3 separate regions of the Homo sapiens genome follow, and regions 1 and 3 are each linked to region 2. Evidence: promoter capture Hi-C in 16 types of primary human blood cells and fetal thymus (Javierre and others, 2016). All regions are on one chromosome and are shown on one strand. The core of a region is centred on a gene start or on the middle of the fragment in contact, and the rest is flanking DNA. Distances in the headings are between cores, read along the strand shown. Region 1 overlaps NOSIP (nitric oxide synthase interacting protein). Region 2 holds the start of KASH5 (KASH domain containing 5). Region 3 overlaps LOC107985340 (a long non-coding RNA gene).

What was found. Contacts are between HindIII fragments. The CHiCAGO score rates a contact against its expected background, and 5 or more counts as called.
Region 1: a fragment that was not itself captured here is called in contact with the fragment with the promoter of KASH5 in region 2 in 5 of 17 cell types (naive CD8 T cells, total CD8 T cells, total CD4 T cells and 2 more); the score reaches 9.7 in naive CD8 T cells.
Region 3: a contact is called between a fragment that was not itself captured here and the fragment with the promoter of KASH5 in region 2, in 2 of 17 cell types (naive B cells and total B cells). The highest score is 8.8, in naive B cells.

Annotation. Positions count from the first base shown.
Region 1 is chr19:49,571,181-49,574,482 of GRCh38, forward strand. The region is part of intron 1 of NOSIP (nitric oxide synthase interacting protein); the gene reads right to left. Among named protein-coding and RNA genes, the nearest start is that of NOSIP, 7.7 kb to the right of the region's middle. The HindIII fragment of the contact is 3,513 bases long and covers 1-3,009 here.
Region 2 is chr19:49,386,785-49,389,920 of GRCh38, forward strand. KASH5 (KASH domain containing 5) reads left to right here and starts at 1,465. Exons shown (of 20, transcript NM_144688.5): 1 at 1,465-1,543. LOC101928295 (a long non-coding RNA gene) reads right to left here and starts at 1,297. Exons shown (of 3, transcript NR_110729.1): 1 at 572-1,297. The HindIII fragment of the contact is 10,613 bases long and covers 1-3,136 here.
Region 3 is chr19:49,246,190-49,249,425 of GRCh38, forward strand. All of the region lies in intron 2 of LOC107985340 (a long non-coding RNA gene), which reads left to right. Among named protein-coding and RNA genes, the nearest start is that of MIR4324, 61 kb to the right of the region's middle. The HindIII fragment of the contact is 8,311 bases long and covers 1-3,236 here.

The DNA of each region.
Region 1 (3,302 bases), core at 3-2,502, 180 kb after region 2:
TCACCATGTTGGCCAGGCTAGTTCTGAACTCCTGATCTCAAGTGATCCGCCCACCTCAGCCTCCCAAAGTGCAAGGATTACGGGCATGAACCACTGCACCCGGCAAACTCTTTGATTTTTAAAACTCAGTGATTTTTAAGATCCTGAGACCAGAAAGCGTGAGCGCCTCCAACCAAGGGTGGAAGAATAGCCAGTTTCAGGATTTACAAACTCTGAAAGCTGAGCTCTCCTGCCCCACACTATATTGTCTCTTTGGTAGGTCCAATTTCAAACTACAAAGCAGACTGCTGCCATCTGCTGTCACCAGCATTTCAGAGAGGAAACAGGCAAAGAGCAGGAGCGACCGATGTCAGCATAATCCCTACCTCACAGCACAGGAAACAGGCTCACAGCATGTCCCAGCTGGGAAATGGCAGAGCTGGGACTCAGACCCAGGCAGCCAGGCTCTGGAGCCATTCCTTTTAACTAGGTGACAACTGTCAGTTTTCCTAGGAAAGTCACAATCTCAGAAAAAAGGCCAATCAGGCTGGCCACGGTGGCTTAAACCTGTAATGCCAGCACTCTGGGAGGCTGAGACGGGTGGATCACAAGGTCAAGATGTTGAGACCATCCAGGCCAACATGGTGAAACCCCATCTCTACTAAAAATACAAAAATTAGCTGGGTGTGTTGGTGCGCGCCTGTGGTCCCAGCTGCTCGGGAGGCTGAGGCAGAAGAATCGCTTGAACCCAGGAGGTGGAGGTTGCAGTGAGCCCAGATCGCACCACTGCACTTCAGCCTGGCGACAGAGTGAGACTCTGTCTCAAAAAAAAAAAAAAAAAAAAGCCAATCCATTCCTTTATTTGTAGCCTTTGAAATCCAGAATGTATTTTACTCTTTCAGCACATCTCAGTAATTTCAGTAATTCAGATGCTAAATTTTCTTTTTTTTTTCTTTTTTTTTTGAGATGGAGTTTCGCTTTTATCACCTAGGGTGGAGTGCAGTGGTGTGATCTCGGCTCACTGCAACCTTCACCTCCCCGATTCAAGTGATTCTCCTGCCTCAGCCTTCCAGGTAGCTGGGATTACAGGCACCCGCCACCATGCCTGGCTAATTTTTTGTATTTTTAGTAGAGATGGGGTTTCGCCATGTTGGGCAGGCTGGTCTCGAACTCCTGACCTCAGGTGATCCACCCGCCTCAGCCTCCCAAAGTGCTAGGATTACAAGCATGAGTCACTGCACCCAGCCTTTTTTTTTTTTTTTTTTTTTTGAGACAGAGTCTCGCTCTGTTGCCCAGTCTGGAGTGCAAAATAGTGCAATCTTGGCTCACTGCAACCTCCACCTCCAGGGCTCAAGCCATTCTCCTGCCTCAGCCTCCCAAGTAACTGGAATTCCAGGCGTGTGCCACCATGCCCAGCTCATTTTTGTATTTTTATATTTGTATTTTTAGCACAGATGGGGTTTCACCACATTGGCCTGGCCATCAGATGCTAAATTTTCATTGGAGATACTTTAAAATATATATATATATATGGCTGGGAGCAGTGGCTCACGCCTGTAATCCCAGCACTTTGGGAGCCCAAGGCGGGCAGATCACCTGAGGTCAGGAGTTCAAGACCAGCCTGGCCAATGTGGCGAAACCCTGTCTCTACTAAAAATGCAAAAATTGGCTGGGTGTGGTGGCAGGTGCCTGTAGTCCCAGCTACTCGGGAGGCTGAGGCAGGAGAATCGCTTGAACCTGGGGGCAGAGGTTGCAGTGAGCCAAGATCGGGCCACTGCACTCCAGCCTGGCCAACAGATCAAGACTGTGTCTCAAAAAAAAAAAAAAAAAAAAAGCCCGGCTCTGAAGCAGACCCTGGCTCTAAGCATTTTACTGAATATCATAACACCTCAAACGGTCGAATATCACAACACTCCACTGAATATCACAGCACCTCAAATAGTTGCTATAAATGAAGAGAGGCACAGAGGCGGTGCCCTAGGTTATGCAGCTAGTGAGTCCTACAGCTGTGTTTGATCCAAGCACCTGTGGCTTTGACCATCCACTGTGCCAGCTGGCTGCAGGCGGCCTCAGGCACTGTGCTGAACTCTGGGAGTGGATCAGACAGCTAGTGTGTGTCTTGTCCTCCCCTGAAATCCTGTCTCCTTTCTCCTCCAGAGCACTGCCAAGGTTTGCCTCCTCCAAGAAGCCTGCCTCTCCGGGATCAGTTAGGTTCTCCTTGCACTTGACCGTGCCCTGAGCTACCTCCGTTACAGCCCGTCCCTCGGTATTTCGGCTCCAGAGTAGGGGCCCTGGTTGGTGGGGCCTGGGTTGAACTTCAGCCTGGGTCCCAGCATTGCCTGGCACCTGGGAGGTCTCAGAGATGTCATGATAGAATCAATGAACCACCTCCAATCCTAGGGCCAGGGGAGGTGGGTTAGCAATGAACTAACCATGCAGCCATGACATCATGCCATTAATACACTAATAATTCATTAGTAACATGTGAATCACAGAAGCACTGGAAGAACAGAAGTAATCATCACATCCTTCAACCCCTTAAGAATCAGACCTTGTGGGAAGCACTTTCCACATGTGAACACATTCGGTCCTCATGACAACCTCCCCACGTTCTGCCCATTTATTTTATTTTATGTATGTATGTATGTATGTATGTATTTATTTTGGAGACAGTCTCACTGTCACCAGGACTGAAGTATTTTTTTTTTTTTTTTTTTGGAGACGGAGTCTCACTCTGTCACCCGGACTGGAGTGCAGTGGCACGATCTTGACTCACTGCAACCTCCACCTCCCAGGTTCAAGTGATTCTCCTGCCTCAGCCTCCCAAGTAGCTGGGATTACAAGCACACACCACCATGCCTAGATACTTTTTTTGTATTTTTAGTAGAGACGGGGTTTCACCATGTTGGCCAGGCTGGGTCTTGAACTCCTGACCTCAGGTGATCTACTACCTCGGCCTCCCAAAGTGCTGGGATTACAGGCATGAGCTACCGCGCCCAGTCTTGCTCATTTAATAGGTAGGAAAATTGAAGCTTGGAGAAATTGGCCTCTTCCTCAGTCTATTCCTTGACAAACCAGCCTCAGGGGGGCTTTTCAGAATGGAAGTTTGATTAAGTCACTCTCTTCAACTGCTTCTTGGACATGACTCAAGACAAAAACCAAATTATTCAGACTAAGTGTAAGAGAAATGGGAGAATAGGAAAACTGCCATTTTGCAACCTCTGGTGAAATAGCTGACTCAGGCAATGATTGTTGATGGATGGCATTAAAGGAGAGGCTGATGGGGCCTGGATAGTCACAGGATGCTAATTCTTGCTACTGGA
Region 2 (3,136 bases), core at 215-2,714:
AGGGAGGGGGAAGGGAGGGGAAGGGAGGGGAGATAAAGGGAGGGGGAGGGGAAGGGAGGTGGGAGGGGAGATGAGGGGAGGAAAGTGGGGGGAGGAGAGGAGCAGAGGGGAAGAGAGGGGGAGGGGAGGGGAAGGTACGGGGGAGGGGAGATGAGGGGAGGGGAGTGGGGGAAGGGGAGGACAGGAGCAGAAGGGAAGGGAGGCGGGAGGGGAGGGGAAGGTACGGGGGAGGGGAGATGAGGGGAGGGGAGTGGGGGAAGGGGAGGAGAGGAGCAGAGGGGAAGGGAGGGGGGAAAAGAGAGATGGCACAAATTATTAATATCCGTCACCACAGATCTTACAGATATTAAAAAGATTGGGCATGGTGGCTCATGCCAGTAACCCCAGCACTTTGGGAGGCCAAGGTAGGAGGATCATTTGAGGGCAGGAGTTCGAGACCAGCCTAACATAAGACCGTGTTTCTCCCCCTCCAAAAAAAGACAATATTATGAACTTTATGCAAATTATTTGAAATTTTAGATAAAATGGAAAAATTCCTTGAAAACCACAACTTACCAAAACCACAACTTACCAGAAATAAAATAGAACATCTGAATAGTTGTATTTTTATAAAAGAAATAGAATTTGTAATTTAAAGTCTTTCCACAAAGAAAACTCTAGGTCCAGATGGCTGGTGACTTCTTCCAAACACATAAAAAATAAATAACATCAATCCTACACTAGCACTTTCAAAGAATAGAAAAAGAGAGAACACTTCTCCACACATTATATCAGCATAGCCTTGTTAACAAAACTCAACAGGGATCTCACAGAAAAGAAAAGAAAAGAAAATATGGCAATACATAAAAAGGACAGGCCAGGCGCTGTGTCTCACGCCTGTAATCCCAGCACTTTGGGAGGCCGAGGCGGGTGGATCGCCTGAGGTTGGGAGTTCGGTACCGGCCTGGCCAACGTGGTGAAACCCCGTCTCTACTAAAAATACAAAAATTAGCCAGGTGTGGTGGCGGGCGCATGTAATCCCAGCTACTCGGGAGGCTGAGGCAGGAGAATTGCTTGAACCCGGGAGGCGGAGGTTGCAGTGAGCTAAAATTGTCCCACTGCACTCCAGCCTGGGCGACAGAGCGAGACTCCATCTCAAAAAAAAAAAAAAAAGAAAGAAATGGGGGACGGACAAGGAGTCTCTCAGTTCAATTCCCCCTTCCTCAGCCCATTTCACCAAAGCCTGAAGCGGAAGAGAAAAACACGAGCCCCAGCATGGCGGGCGCAGCCACCCCCTCCTTCCACCACCAGACAAACTCCGTGGCCACAGCCCACACCGCCAGCGCGCATGCGTGACACGCGTCGGCCGCCGGTTTGCACCTGCGTCTTAAGAGGAGTCCGGGCGGGGAGGGGCGGGGCTCAGACGCTGCGCACGCGCACTCGCGACCCCTCGCCTCCTTTTGCTTTTTCTGGCGGGAAAAGCTCACGCGCACCTCCCCCAACTCAACTGCCGTTCGTCGTTCGTGGATGTCCGTTGTGTCCCGAGACTAGGACGTGGCTCCAGGTGCGCCCTGCCCCGCGGCGAGGTTCCCAGAATGGCCCTTCCCAGCCCCTACCGAAATCCTAGCGAAGCCCCCCCATATTGTGGGAGAGATACCCCTGCGTCAGGGCCCCCCAGATCCTGACCACTTGGGAGGCCGAGGCGGGCGGATCACGAGGTCAGAAGATAGAGACCATCCCGGGGAAGTGAAACCCCGTCTCTACTAAAAATACAAAAAATTAGCCAGGCGTAGTGGCACGCGCCTATAATCCCAGCTACTCAGGAGGCTGGGGCAGGAGAACTGCTTGAACCTGGAAGGCAGAGGTTGCAGTGAGCTGAGATCGCGCCACTGCACTCCAGCCTGGGTGACAAGAGTGAGACTCCGTCTCAAAAAAAAAAAAAAAAATCCTGACCACATCCCCTCAGATATACTGAAAGGAGTCCACCAGGAAATCTTATAGTTGACCCCCGAAATCCTGTCAGAATCGTCTAGAAATTGTCAGACTTCTCCCTCAGAGCCTGCCAGAAACTTTCCCCAAAATCCTATTACTCTCCCCAGATCAGCAGAGCCACCTAGACTCGTGTCAGAGATCCCCAGAAATCCTGGCAGGTCCCCTCCCAAACCCAGTCGGACCTCAGATTCCGTCAGAGAGCACAGAAGTCCATCAAAGACACCCCAGAAACGGAGACCCCGAAATGCACTCAGAGACCCCCGCAGAAATCAAGACCCTCCAAATCCAGCCAGAGACCCCCAGAAATCCAGTCAGACCCCTGCAGAAATCAAGACCCCCAAAATCCAGCCAGAGACCCCCAGAAATCCAGAGACCCCCGCATAAATCAAGACCCCCAAAATCCAGAGACCCCGAATAAATCAAGACCCCCAAAATCCAGTCAGAGAACCCCCAGAAATCCAATCAGACCCCCGCAGAAATCAAGACCCCCGAAATCCAGCCAGAGACCCCTGAAATCCAGTCAGAGACCCCCACAGAAATCAAAATCTCCAAAATCCAGCCAGACACTCCCCAGAAATCCAGTCAGAGACCCCCCCAAAATCCTGTCAGAGCCCTTGAAAGCCCGCCAAGGCCCACACCACCCAGAGCTCCTGCCAGGGCCCCATCCTGCTTCAGTGTCCCCGTCTCAGTCCCGTCAGACCCCCGAGATCAACCAACACCCCCGGGGTCCCTCAGGACTCCATCCCGAACCCACTCCGTGCGCCAGGGCCCAGCCAAGGCCATCGCCCCCCTTTGCACCCTGCAGGGTGTTCCAGACCCTGGAAGGGCCTCTCTTCAAAGACCCGTGTTTCCAGAACGGTGGCAGCGGGCTCACGTGGCTTGGGGAGAGCAGGCACTGGGGGAGCTGGGTGAGGACAGGCGAGCCCAGGCTCGACTGGTGGCCCCAAGGGGCGCCCGTGCCCGCTGTGATGATAGCAGCGCCCAGGTCTCTCTCTAGCCCCCAGAGTGCGGCCACTAAGGTTTTGGGTCGGCCTGGGTGGAATGGAGGCAGGATGGGGCCCCCCAAACTCCTGTCACTGCTGCAGGGACTGCCCAGAGCAGCTGCAAGTGGGGCTGGCAGGGATGAGGAGGAGGTGGCCTGGGCTTGGGGGACCATGTACATCCT
Region 3 (3,236 bases), core at 225-2,724, 140 kb before region 2:
ATGACTGATTTCCATCACTACATATAAGTCTGACCTGTTCTTGGGTTTCATAGATAATAGATTCACACAATACATAGACATTTGTGTCTGGCCTGTTACATTTAATATAGAACATCTTTGCTAAGCCCGAGGTCATAAAGATATTCTATGTTTTCTTCCGGAAGTTTCTAGTTTTGGCTTTTGAATTTAGGTCTTTGGTTCCTGTTAATTTGGGGTGGGGGTATGGTATGTGGCAGGAATATGTTTATATTTTTCTATATGGCTATACAGTAGTTCTAGCCCTGTTTGTTAAAAAGACTTTCCCTTACCCATTGAATTGCTGTGATATCTTTACTGAACATCAATTGGTCATATGTGTATAGGTGGATTTCTGTTCTGTTCTATTGATCTTTTGGTTTATCTTTAGGCTAATATAACACTGCCCTGACTACTGTAGCTTTATAGTAAATCTTGAAATTCGATAGTATGAGTCTCCAACGTGTTCTTTCTCAAGATTGTTTGGACTACTTTAGGTCTTTTGCATTTTTTTTTTTTTTTTTTTTTTGAGATGGAGTCTTGCTCCATTGCCCAGGCTGGAGTGCAGTGGTGTGATCTCAGGTCATTGCAACCTCCCTGCCTACTGAGTTCAAGCAATTCTCCTGCCTCAGCCTCCTAAGTGAAATTACAGGCACCCGATACCACGCCTGGCTAATTATTTTTTAGTAGAGATGGGGTTTCCTCATGTTGGCCAGGCTGGTCTCAAACTCCTGACCTCAGGTGATCCTCCTGCCTTGGCCTCCCAAAGTGCTGGGATGACCGGCATAAGCCACTACACCCGGCCGGTCCTTTGCATTTTCATGTACATTTTAGAATCAGCTTGTCAATTCCTCAACAAACCTGGCTGAGATCTGAATTGCCATTGTGTTGAATCTGTAGATCAATTTGGGGAGAACTGATATCTTGTTTTTTGAGACAGAGTCTTACTCTGTTACCCATGCAGGAGTGCAGTGGTGCGATCTCGGCTCACTGCAGCCTCTGCCTCGCAGGCTCAAGCGATTCTCCTACCTCAGCCTCCTGAGTAGCTGGGATTACAGGTGTGTACCACCATGCCCAGCTAATTTTTTTGTATTTTTAGTAGAGACAGGGTTTCACCATGTTGGCCAGGCTGGTCTCAAACTGCTGAGCTCAAGTAATCCACCCACCTCGGCCTCCCGAAGTGCTGGGATTACAGGCGTGAGCCACCACGCCCGGCCTACACCAATTCTTTGAATTCATAAACAAATATTTCCATTTATTTAGGTTTTTCTCTCAAAAATACCTTGTAGTTTTCAGTATAGAGATTTTTGAATATCTTTTGTTAAATATAGTCTTAGCATTTGATTTTTGAGGCTATTGTAAATGGTTTTGTTTTTAAAATTTCACTTAACTATGGTTTGTTGCTAGTATGCAGAAATGTGATTATTTTTGTATATTGGCTTTTATTTTTGTGACTTTCCTAAGTGCACTTATTCTAGTAGCTTTTTATTTTTGTAGATTCCCTAGGATTTCCTAATTACATGCTTATGACATCTGTGAATAAAGACAGTTTTACTTCTTCCTAGCCAGTTTCTATGCTTTTTATATCTTTTTCTTGCCTTCTTTCACTGGCTAGGAACTTCACTATAGTGTTGAACAGAAGTGGTGTAAAGGGATTTCCCTTCCCTGTTTTCAGTATTGGGGAAAGTATTCAGTATTTCATCATTTAGTATGATGTTAGCTGTAGCTTTTGTCATTGTTGTTAATATCCTTAACACAATGAATGATTCTCAACCGAGGGTGATTTCCCACCTCTTCCAGGGACATTTGGTAATGTCATATGACTTTTTTTTTTTTTTTTTTTTTTTTTTTTTTGAGACTGAGTCTCGCTCTATCACTCAGGCTGGAGTGCAGTGGCGTGATCTCGGCTCACTGCAAACTCCGCCTCCCGGGTTCACGCCATTCTCCTGCCTCAGCCTCCTGAGTAGCTGGGACTACAGGCGCCCGCCACCACGCCTGGCTAATTTTTTGTATTTTTAGTAGAGACAGGGTTTCACCATGTTAGCCAGGATGGTCTCGATCTCCTGACCTCATGATCCGCCCACCTCGGCCTCCCAAAGTGCTGGTATTACAGGCGTGAGCCACTGCACTTGGCCTGTCATGTGACATTTTTCATTGTCACAAACAGCTGAGTGGGGAGCGTTGATGCTGGCATCTTGAGGGTGAAGGCTAGGAACACTGCCAAGCATTCTAGGATGCACAGCACAGCCTCTCCCCACCCCAGCAAAGAATTTTCTGGGCAAAATCCCCATCATGTTCAGGTAGAGAATCTCTGCCCAGCACATGGAGGAAGTTCTGTTGTATTTCTAGTTTGTTGCAGGTTTTTTTTCCTCCAATAATAGGTGTTGAATTTTGTCAAATGGTTCTTCCCTTTAATCTATTAATGTAATAAGTTACATTAATTTCTGGGATAAAACCACTTGCTTATACTGTATCCACTTTGTTTGTGGATTAAATTTGCTAATATACTTTGAGACAGTCTCTCGTTCTGTCGCCCAGGCTGGAGGGCGTGATCTTAGCTCACTGCAACCTCCGCCTCCTGGGTTCAAGCTATTCTCCTGCCTCAGCCTCCCGAGTAGCTGGGATTATAGGCGCCTGCCACCACGCCCGGCTAATTTTTATATTTTTAGTAGAGATGGGGTTTCATCATGTTAGCCAGGCTGGTCTCAAACTCCTGACCTGAAGTGATCCACCCACCTCCCAAAGTGCTGTGATTACAGGCACAAGCCACTGCGCCTGGCCAAATTTAACTTTTAAACTCAGAAATGGGGCTATTTAGATTTTCTACTTGCATCAGTCTTTGTAATTTGTACCTTGCAAGGTGTTTAAGTTGAACTTATAGGTATAATTTTGATCATAATATTCCATTATTATTTTGATGTCATCAAGATCTATGATGGTGCTCCTTTTGTTTTAGAGTCTCTGTTGTGCAGGCTGGGTCACCGCAGCCTCCACCTCCTGGCTTCAAGCGATTCTCTTGCCTCAGCCTCCTGAGTAGCTGGGATTACAGGCACATGCCACCACACCTAGCTAATTTTTATATTTTTAGTAGAGATGAGATTTTGCCATGTTGGCCAGGTGGGTCTCAAACTCCTGACCTCAAGTGATCCGCCTGCCTCATTCTCCCAAAGTGCTGGGATTACAGGTGTGCGCCACTGTGCCTGGCCAATTCCCTGTATTTT